3 separate regions of the Homo sapiens genome follow, and regions 2 and 3 are each linked to region 1. The links are contacts of gene promoters, found by promoter capture Hi-C in blood cells and fetal thymus (Javierre and others, 2016). All regions are on one chromosome and are shown on one strand. Each heading gives the region's core, a stretch centred on a gene start or on the middle of the fragment in contact. The rest is flanking DNA. Distances are from core to core; before and after follow the strand shown. Region 1 holds the start of MRGPRG-AS1 (MRGPRG antisense RNA 1). Region 2 overlaps KCNQ1 (potassium voltage-gated channel subfamily Q member 1). Region 3 overlaps KCNQ1 (potassium voltage-gated channel subfamily Q member 1).

Region 1 (2,603 bases), core at 55-2,554:
TCTCGCACTCTGAGAACATCCTCGGGACTCTCAGCCTCGCTCCTTGCAAGTGGCCACTTGTATCTGCCCCTCCCCTTGTGTTAGTGGCTCCTGGAGAGGCCCCCTGGCCCTGCCACCATCACCAAAGCCCCTCTCTTGGCTTGAGGCTTCAGAGCAGCCTCCTGAGTGCACCGCCGGCAGCATGAGCCCCGGGATTCAGCTTCTGCTTAGGCCAGGAGTGCACAGGGAAGGCTGGGGGCTCCCTCCAGCTCCTCACACCGCATCTTCCCTCCTCCCTCCTCCTCAGACCACCTGCAGCCTCTGCCTTTGGGCACCTCCCTGGACACCTCCAGAGACCCTCCGGGGAGGGGACTTCGCCAGCAGGCTGGTCTAGGCTCACCAGGTGGGAGCCCCATGAGGGTCCACCGTGGAGAAGCTCCCACCTCTGGGGGAAGAGGAAGGCGCCACACGTGGGTTCCCCATGCACGTTCCCTCTGTCTGCAGACCCTTGTCTGGCACACGGTGGAGGGTGCAGCATCACCCTCACCACATCCATGAGGGACATGGACATCTTTTCAGCAAGTTAGTCCACCCTGCCAGGAGCCCAGGGCCTGCCCTCAGGTATGGGGAGGCATTAGGCACGCCTGACCTGAGGTGCAGAGGGCTGAGACCCGGCTGAGGTCCCGCCGCTGGGAAGGGTGGTCCAGGGGCTGCACCCAGAGGGCACCTGCAGGGCCATGGATGCCACTCCCTGTGCCCCCAGCGGGGGCACAAAAGACTCCTGAGGACCATGTCTGTCTCCATCTTGCAGGTCCCTCGCCAGCACCCTCTGAGCCGGCCAGGATGTTTGGGCTGTTCGGCCTCTGGAGAACCTTCGACAGTGTGGTCTTCTACCTGACGCTGATCGTGGGCCTCGGGGGACCGGTAGGTAACGGGCTGGTGCTCTGGAACCTCGGCTTCCGCATCAAGAAGGGCCCCTTCTCCATCTACCTGCTGCACCTGGCCGCCGCCGACTTCCTGTTCCTCTCCTGCCGTGTGGGCTTCTCCGTGGCTCAGGCTGCCCTGGGCGCCCAGGACACACTCTACTTCGTGCTCACCTTCCTGTGGTTCGCGGTGGGGCTCTGGCTGCTGGCGGCCTTCAGCGTGGAGCGCTGCCTCTCCGACCTCTTCCCCGCCTGCTACCAGGGCTGCCGGCCCAGACACGCCTCGGCCGTCCTCTGCGCCCTGGTGTGGACCCCGACCCTGCCGGCCGTGCCGCTGCCCGCCAACGCCTGCGGCCTGCTGCGCAACAGCGCGTGCCCCCTGGTCTGCCCGCGCTACCACGTGGCCAGCGTCACCTGGTTCCTGGTGCTGGCCCGCGTCGCCTGGACGGCTGGCGTGGTCCTCTTTGTCTGGGTGACCTGCTGCTCCACTCGCCCGCGGCCCAGGCTCTACGGCATCGTCCTGGGCGCGCTGCTCCTGCTCTTCTTCTGTGGCCTGCCCTCGGTCTTCTACTGGAGCCTGCAGCCCCTGCTGAACTTCCTGCTGCCCGTGTTTTCCCCGCTGGCCACGCTGCTGGCCTGCGTCAACAGCAGCTCCAAGCCCCTCATCTACTCGGGGTTGGGCCGACAGCCCGGGAAGCGGGAGCCGCTGAGGTCGGTACTGCGGAGGGCCCTGGGGGAGGGCGCCGAGCTGGGTGCCAGGGGACAGTCCCTGCCCATGGGTCTCCTATAAGTGGGCTTGCCCCGCCCACAGGGCCTGCCAGGAGGTGCCCACCCCCACCGACCCTCGCTCACCCCACACCCAGATGCTTTCAGGACCAGGAGGAGCCCCGCCCACCACCTAGCTCTTACCCTGAGCACCCAAGGGCTGGACACAGCTGGAGAGACTTGGCCCTGACCACCCCCCAGCCAGGCCTGCTGAGGATGAGGGAGGCAGAAAATGGAGCTGGAGAGAGGTCAGGCAAGGAGAGAGAAAGGAGAAGCCTCCTGAATAGGGGTGAGGACAGGCACCACGCCCCCAGGCCCAGCCCAGATCCCCTTACCCGGCCCCTCCCCACCCTGCTGCACCTGAGTCACAGGGGAGAAAACTGCACAATAAAACAGAGCCAGCCACCAGCCCACAGTGGCCGGATTGGAACCCAGGCTTCCGGACTCCTGGGCTAGGTGGGCGCCGTCCATGCCACCTGCTGGCTGAGGCTCTGATTCGCCCCCTACAGAGTTGAGGTGGAACTACTCCTTACTCCCCGCCCTGCTCAGCCATCATTGTCCTGCCCACCCCGCGGGGACCACACCCAGGGCTCTGTCCCCCTCTCTGAGGCCCAGGACTGGCAGGTGCCTGATGTCACCAGCAGAGGCCACCAGGTGGTGCTGCTTCTGCACAGAACAGACCCAGCCCCGTGGGCCGGCGGATGCAGGAGCCTCCATCCCCTCGGTCCCCTCCCATCCCCTCCCACACTGGTCCCCACCCGGCCTCTCCTGCGTCCCCAGGGCCATCCGCTCTCTGCGGGTTGCTCCCGTCTCCCACCTCTGCTCTCACCCTCCCTCCTCAGCCCTGGATCATCTGGAGCTTTTGCCCCAAGTGTTTGCTTTGGAGAGAGAGAGAGAGAGACAGAGAGAGAGAGAGAGACAGAGAGAGAGAGAAAG
Region 2 (2,603 bases), core at 60-2,559, 700 kb after region 1:
ATTTTATCACAATAAAAAAAAAACTTTTTTTAAAGCAAACAACATTCATAGAGCAAGCATCAGAGGGTTCAAAATGTTCCCCGTGGCTGGTGAATGAGATCGAGCAATGTTCAAAGACCCCTACTGGGGACGGGACCTCGCCAGGCTGATAAGCAGACAATGGGTTTGTGAAGCGAACCTAAAGCCGAAGGCAGGATAGGGCCTTGAATGTGTAACTTCAAGAGATTAAATATTGACGCTTAAACCCCAAACCACTTCTAGGGGCTTAAAAAAAAAAGTCATCCTGGGAGACTCCAAATGCCTCCAAATCCCATGTGCCCCAGGAAGGAAACACTGGGCGCTGGAGAGGACAGGCTTCCCCTGCTCACTCACTGGTCACCAGCAGGTCTCCCTCCATCCCTGATGTGGCTGCCGGCTCCAGGGCTGCTGAGCTCAGAGCCCTGGGATGTGGACGCCCAGGGGCAGAGGTCTCACAGCCTGCCAGGGCTGTTCCCCAGGGCTGAATCTGCACCTCAGAAAAAGCTACCAGCTGGTCACCCCCCTCACCAGTGGCTGTCACCCCCCTCACCAGTGGCTGTCAGCAGGCAGCCTCAGCAGGGTTTGGAGGTCGCCAAGGTCCCCACAGGTTCACCTGCTTCCTGGCTCTGCATGGATGGAGCCTGGGCCAGGCATCTCCCGACCCCTCCCAAAGGGGTGAGCCCTGGCCCACACCGAGGGCCCCACGCTGGGCTGGACACTAGGCACAGGTTCCCCGCTCTGAACCCCATGTGGAAGGTGTCACATCATGGAAGTCCTGGTGAGGAGACAGAAGCCCTGGTGAGGCACGTCTGGTCCCAGGCTGCCCCCCAGAAGCCCCCTGGATTGGGGTTCAGGAGGCACTACCAATCGATGGGGACACTGAGGCTCAGACACAGCATGGGACGTGCCCAGACTGGCCGACTCCAGGGGCCCCAGCGCCACCACTTGGTGCCATGGTCCTGAGGCAGGAATGCCACATCAGGCCATACGTCATCCTGGGGGGTGGGGGCGACAGGGCCCTTTTCAGCCTTCCAGCCTCTGCGGGCTCCCGCGTCCTGGGTGGGTGGCGGCATCACTCCCGTGCTGTGCAGCATGTGGCCGGATCCTCCTTTGTTGAATCTGTCCTGTCTTTTAGGAGGACACGTGTCACTGGACTTGGGCCCCCTGGATAATGCAATCACGCCTCTCGGGACCCTCAGCCTCAGCTGCAAAGGGGTGTTTTCTATGTCAGGTCACATTTGCAGCTTCCAGGGATGGAAACCAATGTTGTGGGGGGGGGCCAACACCTGCTGTACTATGTAAGTATTTAATACATTACTTATGATCACTATTGGTAGATTTTGAATTCTTAAACAACAGAATTAGGTATTGGTCAAAAACATATATTAGTTGTTGTTGTTTTTTGGTTTTTTGTTTTGTTTTGTTTTGTTTTTGAGACAGAGTCTTGTTCTGTCACCCAGGCTGGAGGACAGTGGTATGATCCTGGCTCACTGCAGCCTCGATTTCCTGGGCTCAAGCGATCCTCCCAACTCAGTCTCCCAAAGTGCTGGGATTACAGGCGTAAGCCACCATGCCCGGCCTCATGTCTTAATTTTTAAAACATAATTAAAAATGTACTCAAAGCTCAGAGTTTCCTTTTCATCCTCTCACCTCCAGATCCTTAATGGAATTGCATCTGAAAAAATTCTTTTAAAAAGAGGGTCACGTCCACGCCCACTGGTGTCAGCACAGGGACGCCTCTCTCACCATTCAGCCCACAGGGCATCACCCGAACCCTGTCATGTTGGAGAGAAGGGAGCTGGGGGTGGTGATTCCCGGCACAGGCGGGACATGGCTGGCCCATCTGCAGCAGGCAGCTGCCACGTCGGGAGTAGGTCCATGAGGCTCCCTAGCACCCCAGCCCTTCAGGGACCGCCACTTCTCACCAGAACGGCAACAGCTGCCCCCCAACCATTGCCCCTCAGGCCCCCACACAGCACCCTGTCTGCCATTGTCCACACTGCCCAGCTGGTTGGCAGGGCCTTGGAAGCCCCTCCCCTGGCAGCCACAACAGGGCACAAACCACAGAAGGAGCGTGGATGTGATCCCACACCCGCTTCACAGACCCACAGCCTGGTCCTCCCCGTCCAGCTCCGGGTGAATGGACGCCTCCCCACCAGACTGGGCCTCCTTGGCCCAGGGCTCCCGTGGCCACCCCATGCCTCACGCTGTCTTATACTCTTTACCTGTGGCTTGTTCCGCGGCAGCTGAGTCTCATTTCTTTAAAAAGTTCTTGAAAGCCATGGGATCCCAGCCCAAGGGACACAACAATGGGTGACTTGGTGTGGCCGGTGGGTAAGATTTCTGCCCTCATTGTCTCCCGAAGCCCCAAGTGTGCTGTCCCCGTTAGACAGAGCCGCCAGCCCGCCTATCCAGGAGCCATCTGGAGATTAAACCTGTGTCCCACAGCAGGACCAAGGCTGTCCCCAGCCTCTTGGGGTTTCAGCTGACACTTTTTCCAACACAGATCTGGACTGGGAACCCCAAGAAACAGGTCCCTTCCTGCCAGCTTTCGGCTGGGTCCACACAGAACTCCTGTGCCTGCA
Region 3 (2,603 bases), core at 76-2,575, 660 kb after region 1:
CTTTTGCTTTTGGTTGTTTAGTTGAGCCACATGTTATCCATGTTCTGATCCTCATGAAGTTGAGGATGTCACTGAACTCTCATTTCACTGGTTCCTCAAACTCACAGCCAGGTCTGCTACTCTCTAAAGACAGTGTCCACTGTAGTGGGCTCCCTAAGGCTTTCTCCTCAGGAAGATAAGAATTTGCGTGTGACTGCATTTCACCCCTCTCCCTTCACCCCATCAACGGCTCTGTGGGTATAGAAAGCAACCTCCAACATTGTCTTCATAGTTTAGAACAGGGCTTGACAAGCTTTTTCTCTAAAGCCAGATAGTAAATATTTTAGGCTTTGCAGGCCACGCGATTTCTGTTGCAACAACTCCAGCAGACAATTTTGTGCTGTTATAGCACAAAAACAGCCAGAGATGAGATGTTCACAAGCACACGTGGCCGTGTGCTAATCAAATCTTATTTATACAGATCAGCAGCCAGGTTTGTAGGCTATGGTTTACGGACCCTTGGATTAAAGAATCCTCTGACAGGTAGGTATTCCTACCGGCTAAACTGTGTCCCCCGCCCCGCAAATTCATATGTTGAGGTCCTAGACCCTCCAGCACACCTCAGAGTGTGACCTTGTTTGGAAATAGGGTTGCTGCAGATGCTATTAGGTAAGATGAGGTGGTTAGGGTGGGCCCCTATTCCCATACAACTGGTGTTCTTATCAAACGGGAAACCTGGACATGGACTTGCCGGCCGGGGGGCGCTGTATGGAGGCGGAGGCAGGGTCTGGTGCGATGCGTCGACCGGGAACCCTTCCACAGTAGCTGGGGGAGGCCTGGAACACTCCCTCACAGCCTCAGAACGAACCCACCTCGCTGATACCTGGAGCTCAGACTCCTGGACAGGCAGGGGGCTGCAGCTGGCACCCAGGGGCTCCAGGTCATCAGCAAGGCCAGGCCAGAGGTCTGTTCTAGGGTCTCTAGAGAGGTCCAGGCCATAGGCCTCAGGGCCTGAAGCTTCTCTCTCCCCAGGCGGGGTCCCTGTGGGCCTACAAGAAAGTGGGCCCTGTCTCTCCAAGAGGTCTATCAGCCTACCCCTGCCCCATTCCACCAGAAAACCCAGGCTCTGAAGGCAGAACTCAATGTGCCAGTGGAGGCACTCCAGGCCGATGACCAGAAGAAAAGGCCCAGGGGCAGGAAAATGTGGGCATATGGGAGGCACTCAGGGCTCTGAACAGTCAAAAAGGCAGGTGGGGCTGCCCGCAAATCAGGCCCTGAATCCTCTGCTGAGCCCCACAGTTTGGGAGCTGCCTCCCAGGAATCATACCCAGGGCCCCGCACACACAGGAGTGGCCCAAGCCGGCTGCCCTGCAATTTGTGGTGGGGGAGCCCATGGCCCGGAGACGCCCACGCCTGGCTGCAGACACCATTAGCCGCCTGGCAGGCAGCTTTACACGTATTTAAAGCAAATCCCCCATCTTCCCCAGGCAGGGCTGTTTCCGTCTCCAGGCCAGTTAAACGAGGATTTAGTTTCAGCCTGGGAACCCCACTGCTGATGGCTGTTAACCCCAAAGACGGTGCACCCCTCTGATCACTGTCTTAGCTAGAACTGGGATAGGGGGAAAAGGGGGTGGAGCGGGGGACATTATTTTTATCTGCCAGGAGCCGAAGCTTCTAAAAATGTCATATTTAAGAATTTCACCAGCACTAGAAGTTTGGCAAACCAAAGAGACCAGGGGCTGAGCACCCTTCTTTTGACTTGGGGAGAGTGCTGAGAAGGCCGCAGGGTTGAACCCTGTTTACTTTAGCAGAGATTGAGGAGCTGCAACCCACACCGGCCCTTCAGGGGCCCGCGCAGTGTTGGGACAGGAAGGCCTGCGGTTATTAAAGGCTGCCCTGTGGACGTGTGTGTGTGCACGTGTGTCAGCGCGTGTGTGCACACGGGCCTGTCTAGTCTGTTTTCTGACTGCTGAGTACCTCACTCTGATTCTGCAAATCTAGAGATTTTAATAACAGGCGGTGAATTTAAACAGTTGTTTTCCCCCCCTTTCAGGAATGTTTTAAGGGATTGAGAGGAAATTGTGCACGGATTTTGCTGTTTTAAGAGCTAATATGTGAACAACTTCAGAAGGATGTATGTTGTTTTAGGGCTGAAGTTTACACAGTAAACGGGAGAGTCAAAAGCAGACTTGTCGTGAAATTGTAGGGCCTGTCTTCTTAAATTTCATTCCTCTGAGAAGGGACTGCCTCCCTGGGGAGCAAAGCTGGAAGGAAACAGAGAAAGTCTGATCTTTGTCCCCCGTGCCCCTTACGGTGTCCTGTTGCAGAATCCCTGGGGAGGCAGTGCCCAGTGGGATGGCCAGCAGCAGAGACCACCCAGCCCAGGCCCCCTCTCAGGGCACTGAGGAGGGTCCCCCTGCAGATGGCTGCATTCAGAGGTCTGCAAACCCCACAGCCCCTAAGCTGCTCAGGAATGACATGTCAGCACAACATGGTCTTGTTTCCAAATTTGGGCTGGGGCTTCTGCTCCTTGGGGACAAATACTTTCAAAGACATGAACAATCAAAACCTCATCAAGAAGAAATAGACAACCTGCATAGCCCTGTATCTGCTGACTTTCCAAT

Evidence for each region. Contacts are between HindIII fragments. The CHiCAGO score rates a contact against its expected background, and 5 or more counts as called.
Region 2: a contact is called between a fragment that was not itself captured here and the fragment with the promoter of MRGPRG-AS1 in region 1, in 5 of 17 cell types (non-activated CD4 T cells, M1 macrophages, naive CD8 T cells and 2 more). The highest score is 7.1, in non-activated CD4 T cells.
Region 3: a fragment that was not itself captured here is called in contact with the fragment with the promoter of MRGPRG-AS1 in region 1 in 4 of 17 cell types (naive CD8 T cells, total CD8 T cells, activated CD4 T cells and 1 more); the score reaches 6.6 in naive CD8 T cells.

Annotation. Positions count from the first base shown.
Region 1 is chr11:3,217,033-3,219,635 of GRCh38, reverse strand. MRGPRG-AS1 (MRGPRG antisense RNA 1) reads right to left here and starts at 1,304. Exons shown (of 2, transcript NR_027138.1): 1 at 1,077-1,304. It overlaps MRGPRG (MAS related GPR family member G), which reads left to right and starts at 823. Exons shown (of 1, transcript NM_001164377.1): 1 at 823-1,692. The coding sequence starts at 823. The coding sequence ends at 1,692. The HindIII fragment of the contact is 7,931 bases long and covers 1-2,603 here.
Region 2 is chr11:2,518,468-2,521,070 of GRCh38, reverse strand. All of the region lies in intron 1 of KCNQ1 (potassium voltage-gated channel subfamily Q member 1), which reads right to left. Among named protein-coding and RNA genes, the nearest start is that of KCNQ1, 75 kb to the right of the region's middle. RefSeq lists enhancers at 359-858, 859-1,360. The HindIII fragment of the contact is 5,693 bases long and covers 1-2,603 here.
Region 3 is chr11:2,554,303-2,556,905 of GRCh38, reverse strand. All of the region lies in intron 2 of KCNQ1 (potassium voltage-gated channel subfamily Q member 1), which reads right to left. Among named protein-coding and RNA genes, the nearest start is that of KCNQ1, 110 kb to the right of the region's middle. The HindIII fragment of the contact is 654 bases long and covers 999-1,652 here.